5 separate regions of the Homo sapiens genome follow, and regions 1, 3, 4 and 5 are each linked to region 2. Evidence: promoter capture Hi-C in 16 types of primary human blood cells and fetal thymus (Javierre and others, 2016). All regions are on one chromosome and are shown on one strand. Each heading gives the region's core, a stretch centred on a gene start or on the middle of the fragment in contact. The rest is flanking DNA. Distances are from core to core; before and after follow the strand shown. Region 1 holds the start of GRIK5 (glutamate ionotropic receptor kainate type subunit 5). Region 2 holds the start of CXCL17 (C-X-C motif chemokine ligand 17). Region 3 overlaps POU2F2 (POU class 2 homeobox 2). Region 4 overlaps POU2F2 (POU class 2 homeobox 2). Region 5 has its middle 7.5 kb from the start of POU2F2-AS2.

Evidence for each region. The method cuts DNA at HindIII sites, captures the fragments that hold promoters and counts their contacts. A CHiCAGO score of 5 or more calls a contact.
Region 1: the fragment with the promoter of GRIK5 here is called in contact with the fragment with the promoter of CXCL17 in region 2 in 9 of 17 cell types (naive CD8 T cells, naive CD4 T cells, erythroblasts and 6 more); the score reaches 7.7 in naive CD8 T cells.
Region 3: a contact is called between a fragment that was not itself captured here and the fragment with the promoter of CXCL17 in region 2, in 5 of 17 cell types (naive CD4 T cells, total CD8 T cells, fetal thymus and 2 more). The highest score is 8.0, in naive CD4 T cells.
Region 4: a contact is called between a fragment that was not itself captured here and the fragment with the promoter of CXCL17 in region 2, in 14 of 17 cell types (fetal thymus, naive CD4 T cells, total CD8 T cells and 11 more). The highest score is 21.1, in fetal thymus.
Region 5: a fragment that was not itself captured here is called in contact with the fragment with the promoter of CXCL17 in region 2 in 2 of 17 cell types (erythroblasts and naive CD4 T cells); the score reaches 5.5 in erythroblasts.

Annotation. Positions count from the first base shown.
Region 1 is chr19:42,068,954-42,071,653 of GRCh38, reverse strand. GRIK5 (glutamate ionotropic receptor kainate type subunit 5) reads left to right here and starts at 1,448. Exons shown (of 20, transcript NM_002088.5): 1 at 1,448-2,413. It also overlaps a transcript of ZNF574 not described here. The HindIII fragment of the contact is 24,593 bases long and covers 1-2,700 here.
Region 2 is chr19:42,441,575-42,444,274 of GRCh38, reverse strand. It overlaps CXCL17 (C-X-C motif chemokine ligand 17), which reads left to right and starts at 1,329. Exons shown (of 4, transcript NM_198477.3): 1 at 1,329-1,521. The coding sequence starts at 1,443. All of the region lies in intron 1 of LIPE-AS1 (LIPE antisense RNA 1), which reads right to left. The HindIII fragment of the contact is 2,256 bases long and covers 120-2,375 here.
Region 3 is chr19:42,087,561-42,090,260 of GRCh38, reverse strand. It overlaps POU2F2 (POU class 2 homeobox 2), which reads left to right. Exons shown (of 15, transcript NM_001394376.1): 15 at 1-2,700. Among named protein-coding and RNA genes, the nearest start is that of ZNF574, 13 kb to the right of the region's middle. The HindIII fragment of the contact is 1,199 bases long and covers 844-2,042 here.
Region 4 is chr19:42,109,611-42,112,310 of GRCh38, reverse strand. All of the region lies in intron 5 of POU2F2 (POU class 2 homeobox 2), which reads left to right. Among named protein-coding and RNA genes, the nearest start is that of POU2F2, 21 kb to the left of the region's middle. The HindIII fragment of the contact is 4,296 bases long and covers 1-2,700 here.
Region 5 is chr19:42,158,649-42,161,469 of GRCh38, reverse strand. It overlaps a transcript of POU2F2 not described here. Among named protein-coding and RNA genes, the nearest start is that of POU2F2-AS2, 7.5 kb to the right of the region's middle. The HindIII fragment of the contact is 1,185 bases long and covers 804-1,988 here.

The DNA.
Region 1 (2,700 bases), core at 199-2,698, 370 kb after region 2:
TTAGGCCTGACTGGAGTTAAGTGTGGATGTTTGAGGGGGCGGTGTAGATGTTGACCAAGTGGGGTAAGGAGGTGTGTGCAAAGTTGGTGGTCCTTCAGCGTCAGATATATGTGTCAGATGTGTGTCCAGGATGCCCCACATGCCAGCTTGCAGAGGGCTTCCTGTGCTGGGCTGGCATGTGGTCCAGGAGTTGCCATGTGCCAGCTGTGTGTTCGAGGCATGCGGTCACATATGCTGTGGGCCGCACGTGAGTGTGTCAGTGTCTCCTCCCCATCACGAGCATCGGGGGTGGTGGTGAGTCACGGGCTCAGCCTTCGGCGCCAACTGTCATGTTTCTTCCCCCCAAATTTCACCCCCCACCCAGCCATGCACCACCCACCCCCACTCCAAGATCTGTGTCGCTTCTCTCTTCCATCCCCCTGTCCTGCTCAGCTCCTTCTGAGAGGCTGCAGGGTGTTCCCTGGGAAGGAGTCTCCCACTTCTGGCTCTGCCCTCCAGCTTCCTCTCCTTGTCCCATCCACCTTTCCCACTGCCTCTCTGCTCCTGTGACTAGAGAATGAGGGCCCCTTCTCTCCACCCACTCATCTCTGTGGGTCCCAAGGATTTCTCTGTGCACTATAGGGAATTCTCATACTCACCACCCATCCCCTCACCTCTATAGGAGCTATTTATATTGGGGGAGGCTTGCCCCGCATCTCCAGGCTGGCAGCTCCTGCCTCAGTGGCTCTCTTGTGTCTATGAGCCACATCCTTGTCTTTTTGGTACCCTGGTGTCTGTAGGCCTCCCTTGTTTCTGTGACCTTCTTCGGCTCTCCTTGGCTCTCTCCCTGCCCTGTGGACCGCTCCCCATATCTGAGGAGTGCTTTCTGTTTCCAGGGGCCTCTCTCTTGTGTCTCTGGCTTCTCCCGTTTTCCTTCGCGGGAGGTCTCTATGTCCACATTACTGCCCCTTGTCTCCGAGGTCCTTTTGCTTGTCTCTGTAGGCTGCTCCCTTGTCTCCATGGGCCTTTCTTTCTTATCCCTGGGCTTTTCCTGTCCTTGTCCTTGTGGGGTTTGTGGGCCTCAGCCCACTTCTCTGGACAGTCTTGACGGCTGTCTCTCTTCTCTTCATTTCTCTTCATCTCTGTAGCCCTCTCCCCTCATCTCAGTGGCCTTCTCCCTGGGTCTTCTTGCCTCTCATCTCTGTGGGCTCCTGTGCCCAGGGCTGCCTGGGCAGGGCGGTGGCATGGTGTGGTAGAGGGGGTGGCTCGGGGGTGGGCCTTCCATCCAATGCAGCTCCTTCTTCTCATCAGCATTCTCCTCGCGGGGGGCCCCCAGCCCCAACCAATACAGGCTCCCCCTCCCCCGACTCACCTCCCTACTCTCTCTTTGCCTGCCTCCCTCCCTTCCTCCTGCCCGCCCTCCTCCCTGCCTCCCTCCCTCCCTCTTCTCTCTCTCCTGAACCACCCCACTGCGCTCCAGGACCCAGCGCAGGCGGCAGGCGGGCAGGCAGGCGGCGGCCTCGGAGGGGAGACTGAGCGGTGGCGGCAGCCAGCGGCAGGGAGGCAGGCCCAGCCGGGGACTGGAGCCGGGGACTGGAGCCGGCTCCTCACAGGGGACCAGGAGTGTGTCGCCAGGCCCTCCCACTGAGGCCCAGCACCGGGAGCCCCTGGGACACCCCACCCTCCTCCGCCTTTCTCTTCCACCTGCTCCTCTCCATCCTCCTCTCCCTCCTCCCTATCTCTCCACCTCATTTGCCCCCTTCTTGGCCTCTCCGGGTCTCCCAGCTCTCCATCCTCCCCAGCTCTCCACTCCCGGGCTCTCCCCGCCCCCAGCATGCTTTTCCCGTGGGGGCTGAGGGCTTGAGGACTCCGGGCCCTTGCCTCAACCAGGGCAGGGCCCAGGCTCCAGGGGGGAGGGGGAAAGGGGGCGGCCCCCTCCCCCAGCAGGCCCTCCCCTCCCCCACTTCTCCTGATGGCCGGCTTCCTTTTCTCCACCCAGTCCTCGCCCCCTGTGGCCCCCCCAGGCCGGCCCGGCTAGGGGAGGGGGCGGGGGCCCTTTCCTGGGCCAGCTTCCCCCTCCCCCGGCTTTGCCTGTGCCCCCCCCTTCCGTTTTCACCTTCCTCTCCTCCTTTCCTCCCTCCTTCCCCTCCATTTGCTCCTTCCCCCTCTCCTCTCTCCCCTTCTCTCCTCCATTTTCTCCTTTCCCCTTCCTCCCCTCCCCGGCCCGCCCTCTCCTCTTCCACCTGTCCTTCCTCCCTGCTCCTGTGGAGCCACCGTTTTGGATTAGTTGGGAGCCACCACCGGCGGCGGGGGAGGGGGCCCTGTGGACTGCCCTCTCCCCCCGCCCAGCCCCACCACCACCCAGCGCCAGAGCACCTCCCGCTGTCGGTCTTCGGGCCTCGAGGGAGCCCAGCCCTCCGTCCCACCAGGATCCGTGAGTGTCTGCAGGGCAGGGATTGGGCTGGGTTCTGGGTCCTGGAAGGCTGGGCTCTGGTGCCGCCTGGCAGGGGGGCACCACATTCTCCCCGTTCTCCGGACTGGCAAGTACCCTCCCCCACTAGGGGCCTGCTCTGCGCCCTCCATCTCCTCAGCGTCCATTCACCTCGACCTCTTCTCACCTCTTCTTCTGGGTACATAGCTCACTGCCGCCCCTGGCCCTCTAGCTTTCTGGGGTCCTACGGGGCTGATTGCTCTTACTTGGGCTCTCACTTACCCCGGGCC
Region 2 (2,700 bases), core at 80-2,579:
CTGCCACTTTGAGAGATGACTGCACCCATATCTCTAGGCTTTATGAAATGGATGTCATCTCCCTGGTTTTAGAATTTTCCAGAAAGAAGCCACATCAGTGATTTGCATCAGAACAAGCTTAGGCCCACCCTGAGCCTTCAACTTGGACACAGGCTCAGTCATAGCAGTCCCTGGCCCCTGCAGTGCTTTATAAACACTGCAGTAGCAAAGTCCACAATCAACTCTGTGACAAGTCAACAGGCCGAGATAATTTGAAAACGTGGAGAAAAAAGAATGGTCAAACAAAACCAAAGGGCTTTGACTCATGCCTTTCCTCTTTCCTTCTCTCAGGGAAATAAAGTCACACCCCCTGCTCTCACTCCTGCCTGGAGGCTTCCAAAAAAAGGGCTCCCTTGTTAGCCTTCCCTTCAGCCCCCATGAATATCACCCAGCATTCAAGCCCAGCCTCTCCTCTCCCTTTGAGCACATTTCCTAAAGTCTCAAATAAATGTCAAGTTTAGTGAGTGCTGATATTCTATGCCCCTAATGTTTACTTCAAGTATTATTACCTTTCTTCTTTTGCCCGGGGCCATTTCCAAACAAGGGCTGGAGCCAGGCGCCCCAGCAGCTGGGCAAACACACTTCAGGGCTCCTTCCCTCCTGTGGCTCCTGTTTCTCAAACCCTCTGAGACCTAAAGCTCTGGGGGTCTCTTCCCCCAACCCAGTTCCCTCCCCTTTAGACCAGAACAACTAAGCCATGGCCACCTTCCCGATGGACACACAAGGAGGCCTGGTGTCACCCACTGCTCCAGGGGCGGTGTTCTCGGCAGGGGAGCTGCCTCTTGTCCCGGATCCTGCTCTGCTGCCATCTTATGTGGCTGCAGAATTGGAGGGAATTGTGAACAGAGAGAGGACAGGGCAACTTCCCAGGCAACAACACTACTATTGCCGATATTTTGCCAAGGATGGGAGCAGGAGCACAGAGGGGAAACAGACCTTGTCAAAGTCTCTTCTACCAACACTTAGTATCCACTTTCCTGCCAAATATTCAGATAGAGAGGGTCATTGAAAGGTATAAGGAAATCCAAGCAAGAAAAAAAGATTTGAGGAAGAAATCATGAGGCATTGGGGTGTGAGGAGGCGGGAAAGAGTACAGGAGAGAACTGGCACAGCTGCCAAGTTATCAGTCACCTTCTTATGTTCTTAAGAATGCTGAATTTCTTTTGTTTGACCAGTTTCACCTCCCAGATTCCCATAAAGCACATGGTCTAATCTGTTACGTAACAGCAAGACAGCGTCACCTCACCTGTTCTCGCCCTCAAATGGGAACGCTGGCCTGGGACTAAAGCATAGACCACCAGGCTGAGTATCCTGACCTGAGTCATCCCCAGGGATCAGGAGCCTCCAGCAGGGAACCTTCCATTATATTCTTCAAGCAACTTACAGCTGCACCGACAGTTGCGATGAAAGTTCTAATCTCTTCCCTCCTCCTGTTGCTGCCACTAATGCTGATGTCCATGGTCTCTAGCAGCCTGAATCCAGGTAAACAAGACTGTCTATGAAGGGGAAAACGGGGGGAGAAATGTGGCAAAACAGGCCACAGACACATCAAAATGCAGCTTCTCTTAGCTATGGGGGATGGGGCAAGTGAGCCTTTCTCAATGCCAGTTTCCTCCTTTACAAAAAAACAGCAAACTGTACTTACACCCAAACAATGTTGAGAGAGTTAAACGAGATATTGTATGTGAAAATATCTGCAACTGGCCGGGCGCGGTGGCTCACTCCTGTAATCCCAGCACTTTGGGAGGCCAAGGCAGGGCGGATTACAAGGTCAGGAGATCGAGACCATCCTGGCTAACACGGTGAAACTCCATCTCTACTAAAAATACAAAAAATTAGCCAGACCTGGTGGCACGCACCTGTAGTCCCAGCTACTCAGGAGGCTGAGGCCAGAGAATTGCTGGAACCCAGGAGGTGGAGGCTGCAGTGAGCCGAGACGGCACCACTGTACTCCAGCCTGGGTGACAGAGTGAGACTCCATCTCAAAAAAAAAAAAAAAAAAAAAAGGAAAGAAAAGAAAAGAAGATATCTGCAATTGTAGCTGATCCCCCTCACACACACGTACGTATGTATGTATATACTAGCTCAACAAAGATTTGCTCCCATGCCTTCTCCCCCAACACTTTTCCAAAAGAGTAACATAATTCTCATGGCTAAACTTAATGATGATGGTGGGAGAGTGTTGAAGGCAATGGTACCTTTATAGAAGATCAGGAAGTCCTTGCTTCTATTCTTTACAGTGCACTGGAATGCCACCAACATGTCTTAATGCTATTTACTGGTAACGTAATAAACTAGAAAAAGCCTGTCACCAGGTAGTGTCCATATTTGAAGCTTTATCCATAGCAAGCCCTGCTGTAACAGCTCACATTTTGGGAAGCCGACTTTAGCTTAGGGGTTCCAAATCTGCTCCAGCTTTCACTATAAAGTGGCCCAGCCCTGCACAGAGCAACCACGCAGAAAAGACCTGATCCCCATGTATATTTCCGCTTGTGAGCACCATCTCCCCAAAGGCCACTTTGAGGTGAAATGGCTATGTTACATACTCAGCATCAACTTGGTCCTAAAATCAGGAGGCATTCTCCCTTCTCCACCCCAATTTCCAACATCCCCTCCTTTGTAGAGAGAGTGCTCTGGAAGCTGTTAAGCCCCATAGCCCTA
Region 3 (2,700 bases), core at 194-2,693, 350 kb after region 2:
TGAGGGCATTCAGTTGTCTTTTTCCATCCTGTCTGTTTCCCTGAAAAAAAAAAAAATTCATATTCCAGTGCCTATCCGTGGGATCCTTCACGTTCTTTGACATTAACCAGAAACCAAAAAGAGAACTCACCTCGCTTTTCCCACCCTGTGCCCCTCTGGTACTGGCGAATGCCTCTCCCTCCCCCCACATGCACGCACGCACACACCCCAGTGGTGGGGTTCCTCGAGATGGCATCCCCATCAGGGTCCATGTGGTGGGGACAGTGCCACAGCCTGTGGTCCCCATCTGAGAGGGCGCGGTGGTGGCCACCACTCCCACAAGACCTCCACAACTCTTGGCTGGACCCTGTGTTTGACCAGCCCCGGACACGTCTCCACTGACGACGGACAGAGGAGAGACACCACTGGGAGCCACCCTGCCCTCCTGCTATTGTGGAGGCCAACAAAGTTTTGAACCGAAAACCAAAAAAACAGAAACAAACAAACAATAAATTTAAACTAGAAAAAAAATTTATATATATATATAAACATATATATATATATATATATAAAAGGGAAAGAAGATGAGGACTCTTCAAGAATAAGATGGAACCGCGAGGCGGAGCCAAGCCCCTGCACCGGTGGTCCAGGCCCTTGTTCCCCAAGGCGGATGGAAGGACGGATGCTTCTTTCTCTTCACAAATACCTCATGGACGTTGTCTTTGGGAAAGCCGGAGGGGGCGGCTGGGGCAGGGCCTGTCCCTCGGCCAGGGCAGATGGAAGCGGGTGGGCGGGGCTGAGAGAGGGTATCAGGGACAGGGGTGAAGAGCCCCAAACTCCCCTCCCAAATCAACTGAAAAAGCTTTAAAAAAAGACAGGAAAAAAAGGAGTAAGAAAGCAAAAAGAACAGATGAAGGAAAACTTAACAACTTTTGGGTGGTTTGATTCCTCCTTTGATTTCTTTTTCGGTTCTCTTTTGTCTGACCTCTCTCCTCCCCTCCTTCCTCTCTCCTCCCCTCCTTCCTCTCTCCTCTCCTCCTTCCTGTCTCCTCTCTCTCCCTTTGCTCTCCTCTCTTCTCTCTCAATCTTGTTCTTTCTGTGTCTCTCCTCAAACCAAAGTGTTGCAGTGAAGGACACGAGCCATTGAAATCAGGGTGGGGCCTGACAGCCGTAGTGTGGCCCCTGCCCCTTGTTGGGCAGGAGCAGAGAGAGAGGAGAGCCCTGAGACCGCAGGGCTTTGGCCTGGGCAGCTTCCACTTTCTGCCGGACACTCTGAGGAGAGGCAGATGGAGCTCCAGGCCTCAGCGTTCTCTTTTTTCCTTGTCTCCCTTCTCCCACCCGGGAAATGAAACTGTTGGGCTGGGCGACGGAGGCAGCAGAGACTCGGCCATTGCAGGGGCCTCTGGGTGCCTTGTCCGGGCAGTGGTGAAGTAGCCGCCCCTCCCACCCCGGCACGATGGGGCCTGGCACCTCGTCTACCCAACCTCACCGGAATGTAAGCATCTCCGCTGAACGACTCCCTGCCCTTACCCTACCTCTGAGTTTGTCCATGTTTATTTCCTGAAGAGAGAAGGGACTGGCAAGAGGGCTTGGGCCCCAGCCCAAGGGTGGAGAGGGGGCCAAGGGCTCCTGACCAAATAGGAAGGACATTTGAGCAGAGCAAAATGAAAGGAATTACAACCAAAAACCCCCTCCGAGAAGACAGGCAGCATGGAAGGCATGGTGGAGATGACTCAAACAAAAACTATGATTCTAGACCAAAAAGGAAAAAAAAAAAAAAAAAAGGAAAGAAAATCCAGGACTCACCACCACCCACTTCATCCTGCTTCCTCCCCATCAAGTCCCACCACCTGGGACCTCTCCCCACCCCAGTATGTGGGAGTGGGGTAAAGAGGAGAGGAGGAGCAGGGGGCAGGGATGGGGCAGATGCCCTGATGTTGGTGGAGGGACCCCTGTGCAGCCGGGGGTGCTGGGGACCCTCCCCATCCAACCCTCACACCTAGGAAAAGAAAAACAAGAAAAAAAAATTCCTGGGAGGGGGAAAAATAACCAAATCCCAAGCTTTAACTACAGCTGTGAAACCAAATATTGGGAAGGGGGTAGGAGGGAGGGAGGGGCAGGTGAGCCCCAGGTCTCCCCCTGGGCCCCCCTCCCCTGAGGACTCGAGATAAGGCACCAAATACCTCATAGAACTTTAATGTTAAAAAAAGGAAACCAAATATCGTTGGCTGGGGGCCAGCCAGGGCAAGGGGCTGGGGGGCTGGAGGGAGCCAGGGTTGGGAAGGTGATGGGGGAATTCATGCCCCCCACCCCCATCTGCCCCTTACACTCTGGTCCCCCGTCTCGACTCCGGGAAACAAAACTATCTCATCGTTTTTATTTTGTGGTCTGTACAGAGCCTGTGTCCGTGTGTCTGTGTATGAGCGAGAGAGTTGGAGGGCTGGGGAGCTTTATGTGGGGGATGGGGAGGGCAACCCCAGGCTAGGCTATGGGCTAGGTTAGATGTCCGAGGTTGGGGGCCAAGGGCCTGGGCTAGAAAGAGAGGAGAGATGAGTGGGTTGGAGCAGTGGGGAGCCCTCTGAATTTCTCTTCTCCCCAACCCTGACCTCCTACTTAAGGGAGGGACAGAGACTGGGTCTACCCTAATGGTGGGCCTTTTCATTGTGCCAAAAAAAAAAAAAAAAAAATTGATGCCAGTAACTAAACCACCTCTCTCTGTTC
Region 4 (2,700 bases), core at 66-2,565, 330 kb after region 2:
GCCCTACCTGGACCTCGTGACTTGAGGATGGGAAAGTGTAACCCCTGAAAGAGATGGGTTCTGTTGCTTGAATAAGTTGAAGAAGGGGCAGTGGGTACCAGGCCAATCAAAACTGCCCACCTGGAGGTGTGTGGTCAGTTCATCCACAGGGCCTTGGAGTCCAGGAGCCTGGCCCAGGCATGCCAGTTGCTCCCACTGGTTCCTGGGTTGGGATCTGCTGTTGCCTGTCTGTCCTGGAATTTTAGCATAAGGTAGCATGTGATGTAATATGCAGTCCATATGTAGGTATTTTTTTCTCCCTGTTGAATCATTCTCCATTTGTGGTATTCTGCCCTGATCGCCACAACTTCCTGGGTTCCATGTCACAGGGCCAACCACTGGGGGTCCAGAGAAGAACCCACACTGGAGAACGGCCACTCCTCTGCCCCTACTCCCATCTTTAGAGCTTGCCCTAGTGGAGTGACTGTACTAATCGACTGCAGGGGATAGGAGAATGGACTGCAGGGGATAAGAGTAGAAAAGAGAGCCCAGTAGGAAGTCCTTGAAGGCATACAGATGGGACATGAGGGTGGCTTGAGCCAGGAGGGTGAGGATGGGGATCCTGGTTGCTATTTTGTATTGATTGGATAGGTCAAGGATGACTCCTAGGATTTTGGCTTCAGCAGCTGGGTGGTAATGACGTGGTTTCCTGAGTTGGGGAAGATGGGAGGAATGGGATGTTTTGGAAGGCTGGGGTAGAGAGCCAGCAGTTTCATTTTGGACATGTTAGGGTTTGATGAGTCTATTAATCATCCACATGGGAACATCAACTAAGCAGATGCATATTTGAGGCTGAAGCTCAGCAGAGTATCTGGGCAGGAGCTGGAAGTTGTTAGTTGTCAGGAAGAGAATGAATTTGGCCAGGCACAGTGGCTTATGCCTATAATCCCAACACTTTAGGAGGCCAAAGCAGGAGGACGGCTTGAGGCGAGTTCGAGACTAGCCTGGGCAACATAGAGAGACCCTGTATCTTAAAAAAAAAAAATTAACCAGGTGTGGTGATGCATGCCCATAGCCCCCAAGCTACTTGAGAGGCTGAGGCAGGAGGATCGCTTGAGCATGGGAGGTCAAGATGGCAGTGAGCTATGATTGCACCATGACACTCCAGCCCAGAAGATAGAGTAAGACCCTGTCTCCAAAGAAAGAGAGAAAGAAAGAAAAGGAAAGAAGGATAGATGGACAGATGGAAGGAAGGAAGGACTCAGCCAGATTGGGTTCCCACCCTCAAGAGCTCACATTCAAGTGTGGTGACATGAGGTGGGCAATGGTAGCAAATGCTCATTTTGAGGGATATGTTGTAATTTCCAAAATGCTTTCTAGATAATATTACTCAGGCCTCAGAACAACCCAGTGAAAAAGTAGACATTATTATCCCCATTTTACAGATAAGAAAACTGAGGCCCTGGGAGAGAAATGACTCAGTCATAATGACTGCCATTTATGAAGGACCAATTAAGTGAAGAGGAATCAGGCTAAACATTCTACACATATTGTCTCATTTAATTCCTTTAACAGCTCCATGAAGTAAGACTTATTGTGGTGTCACCTGAGGAAACTGAGGCTTAAAGAGGGTAAGGAACGGCCTGAGGTGTGTGAGGGGCAGTCAGGATTCTGGGCTCCAAGGCCCAGGTCTCTCCATAACAACTTGCATCGTGATCCTGTACAGTTAAGGAGGCTGGGGCCCAGAGGGAAAGTGGCTTCCCCCAGGCACACAGCAAGAAGCAGGTGAGAGGGCTAAGGCTCAAACCCCCGAGTTTCCAAGCTGGAAGGGACCCTTGCACCCCACTAGTCTAACCTTCCCCTAGGTTAGGCGTTTCCTTGTTGGTGTTGTTGCCAGGTGGGGATTTTCACCCAGGTGGCTTCCATGGCAGGCACCCACTCCCTTCCCAGGCAGTGCGTCCCACCACCAGACAGACTGAGATTACTCAGAGTGTCAGAAAGCCTGACCTCATTTTAATTTTAAGTTTTATTTTATTTATGTAGTTATTCATTTTTTTAGAGACGAGGTCTTGCTCTATCACCATCATAACTCACTGCAGTGAGGTGCAGTGGCGCCATCATAACTCACTGCAACCTCAACCTCCTGGCTGAAGCAATCCTCCCACCTCAGCCTCCCAAGTAGCTGAGACTACAGGCATGTACCATCATATCTGGATAAGTAAAAAAAAAAAAAAAAATTGTGGAGATGGGGTTTCACTATGTTGCCCAACTGGTCTTGAACTTCTGGCCTCAAGTGATCCTCCCACCTCAGCCTCCCAAAGTGCAGGGATTATAAGCGTGAGTCACTGCATCCAGCTGAGTTTTATTTTATTTTTAAGTAGCAAATAATCATTGTATATATTTATGGAGTAAAATATGATGTTTTGATACAGGTATACATTGTGGAATGATCAAATCAGGCTAATTAGCATACTTATCACCTCAAATATTTATCATTTCTTCGTGGTGAAAACATTTAAAGTACTCTTCTTGCCAGACACAGTGGCGCAGTGTAATCCCAGCTACTTGGGAGTCTGAAGCGGGAGGATGGCCTGAGCCCAGGAGTTCAAGGCTGCAGTGAGCTATAATCACGCACTGCACTCCAGCTTGGGTAACAGAGCAAGACCCTGTCTCTTAAAAAACAAAAACTAAAACTAAAACTCTGTCTTTGATATTTTGAAA
Region 5 (2,821 bases), core at 147-2,646, 280 kb after region 2:
CTTTGGGGATGGGCCTCCTGACCTCTTGCCTACTTCTCTGTTCTCTCCATCTTGTACACAGGAGGTAGAAGGACCTTTCCAAAGGCAAACTGGATTGTATCCCTCTCCCTCTCTGACGAAGCCCTGGCTGCTTGGACCAGGCACTTGACGCCCTGCAGGGAGCAGCCCCTGCAATCTGGAAGCCTCGTCTTTCCCCATTTTTCTTACTGAACCCTGGACAGGCAAAGTCCTGGCATTCTCTCGTTCCTTGCACCTGGTTCTTTCTCTGATTAAAATTTGTCTTCCAGGTTTGGCTTGGGTGTTGTTTCCTCCCTAAGTCTTCTGTGATCTCACCCAGGATGCCCGCAGCACCCTCTGCTTACCCCAGCATGTTGGCATTGGCTCTTCCTTCTGTCTCCTCAACTTGCCTGTGAGCCCCGTAATAGAGCAGAGACCTTGTCTAATTCATCTCTGTCCCCTGCCACACTTGATTCAGAGCCAGAGAAATCTCAATATTTGTTGATGAACTAAATGCACAAATGAATGGACAAATGTACAAGTCAGAAATATCATTATGACTTTTATTTTTAATCTCCCCAGAGCACATAGGAACTTAATAATGAGTAACCTTTTCAAATTTCTTTCTCATTTGTTCCTCGTAGCAGTCCTTTGAGATACACCATTTAATCAGTTAATTCCTCCATCCACCCATCCATTCACTCCGTCGTCCGTTATGCACTAATTGAGCATCTCAAATTTGCCAGGCCCTCTGCCAAACACAAAAGCTTCAAGACACAGTTACAGTCCCTGCACTTTAAGAAGCTTCCAGTCTGATGGGAAAAACAGATGTTCCACAGTGGCAGGCACTAGTATGCCCATTTATGAGTTGGGGACACAGAGGCTCAGAGGCCAGAAGTGACTACTGAAGGCAACAAGTGGCTGACTGGACCTGAGTTCCAGGCACCTGACTCCACAGTTAGCCAACTGCAGCTCCTGATGATGTGACAGGAGGAGGGTTCCTCCACTGGAGGAGTGCATCATCCTGCATGAGGATGGGGAATTCTCCGGGATGTTGACTGCATTCTCCTCTCTCTCCAGGTTCTCGACTGGACCGGGTTGGTGGCCTGAATGTATTAGCTTCGCTGCGTCTGCCCAAGAGGTAAGGACCACGGCCTTAGAGTTTTGCTTATTGATGCACCTTCTGGTTTCTCACAGAAGTCTCTGCTTTCCCATCCTCGTCTCTGGCCTCACCCTGGGTGTGTTGCTGCCCTTCTCCACTCTGCCCACCCAGAGGTTAGAATCTGACTGCTTTGTTCTCACCCTCCATGCATCCTGTGGCTTTCGGGCCAAACCAGTGGTTCTTGGTGTTGATGACTGTGGGTGTTTCTGCTGATCAGTGTTACGGCTCAGTAGGAGAGAGATGGGGGTAACTCGGTGGCTCAGATCACAGCTTTGGGTTCAAGCACACCTATGTTCGAATCTCTTTTCCTGACTTCGAGGGACTTGGGAAAGTTTGAGCTTCCATTTCCTTGTCTGTAAATGGGAATACTAATAGAACCCACCTTAAGTGCCATCCTGAGAGCAAAAGGAGATAGAGGAAGAAGAGCCAGGTGGCTGAGTGATCCTGGGCATGGCTCAGTTTCCCCATCTGTCAAAGGAGGGTAATTAATAGCATTTACCACATGGAGGTGGCGTGAAGATGAAAGTACTTATTCCTTGAAATCGTGTGGCTGCAGGAAGTGGGAGCTCAAAATATGGCTGGAAGCGTTCCCCTGAACAAAGAAGGTTTTATGAAGCCCCTCCCTGAAGCCCACTGAGACTCCCAGGTAGAAGCCATAGTTCTCCTGCTGCTCACCTCTGTGGGAAGCAGGGGCTCTGGCCATTTGCCCTGGTGTTTGCTCCAGCTTGCTTGGTGAGGCCCTGGCAATGAGCATCTAGGGAGGAGGGTGGACAGGGCTTCTGGGGTGGGACAGCCCTCTACTGCCACCCCTATTCCCACCAGAGAAGCTTAACCCACAGGTCTCAGGACCCCAGGGAGGCCTTTGGGTGCCCTTGTAGGACTCCTGGGTAGGAGTCCTTTGCTGTACCAGGAATCACAGTCTCATTTTAAGAAGCAGATGGAAGCTGTAGCCCAGGGTTTGCAACCCAGCATTGTAGGGACTATGATGGACTGAAAAATGCATGGGGTGGGGGACTGCTTTTTAGCTCCACTGACTGTTCTCATGCACAGATGCAACCCTGACTTGCCAGGGTTTCTGATTTTTCAAGAGAAGCCAGGAACCCAGACTTGTGTGTGAAGTCTTCCAATCTTTAAATGTTGGCAACTAATGCAAAACTTGCAAAATCTCCTCGTGGTCCAAACAACATATTTCAGGCAACCTTTGGCCCATAGATACCTAGTTTCACAACAGTATAGAGCTTCTCCCAGGAAAACACATACCTACATTTGCCCAGTTGTGCTACACTTTGGGATGATCACAGACCCCCTGAAGCTCATTCATGGACCCCTGTTATCGCTGAGAGTGTTTGTTCCAGGATGTGTCATTTCTCTAGAGTGCTTTCTCCAGGGAACCGAAGTTGCAGTTTTTCCAGGAATCCTCACATCCTCGAAAAGAGAGTCAAGGAATTTCCAGGTTGCAGAATTAGTTTGGGAGCTAGAGACTGGCTTTGAGGAACGTCTGAAAGTTGGGCTGAAGTAACAGAGGGGTTTAATTATGTTTCCAGTTGGTAGAGGTCACTGTTAGGTCTATGATTTCAATTATTTGTCTTCAAATAGATGTTCATTAAATATCCATGATTTCATGGACATGTGGGTGACTGACTTGGTAACACGTAACAGGGC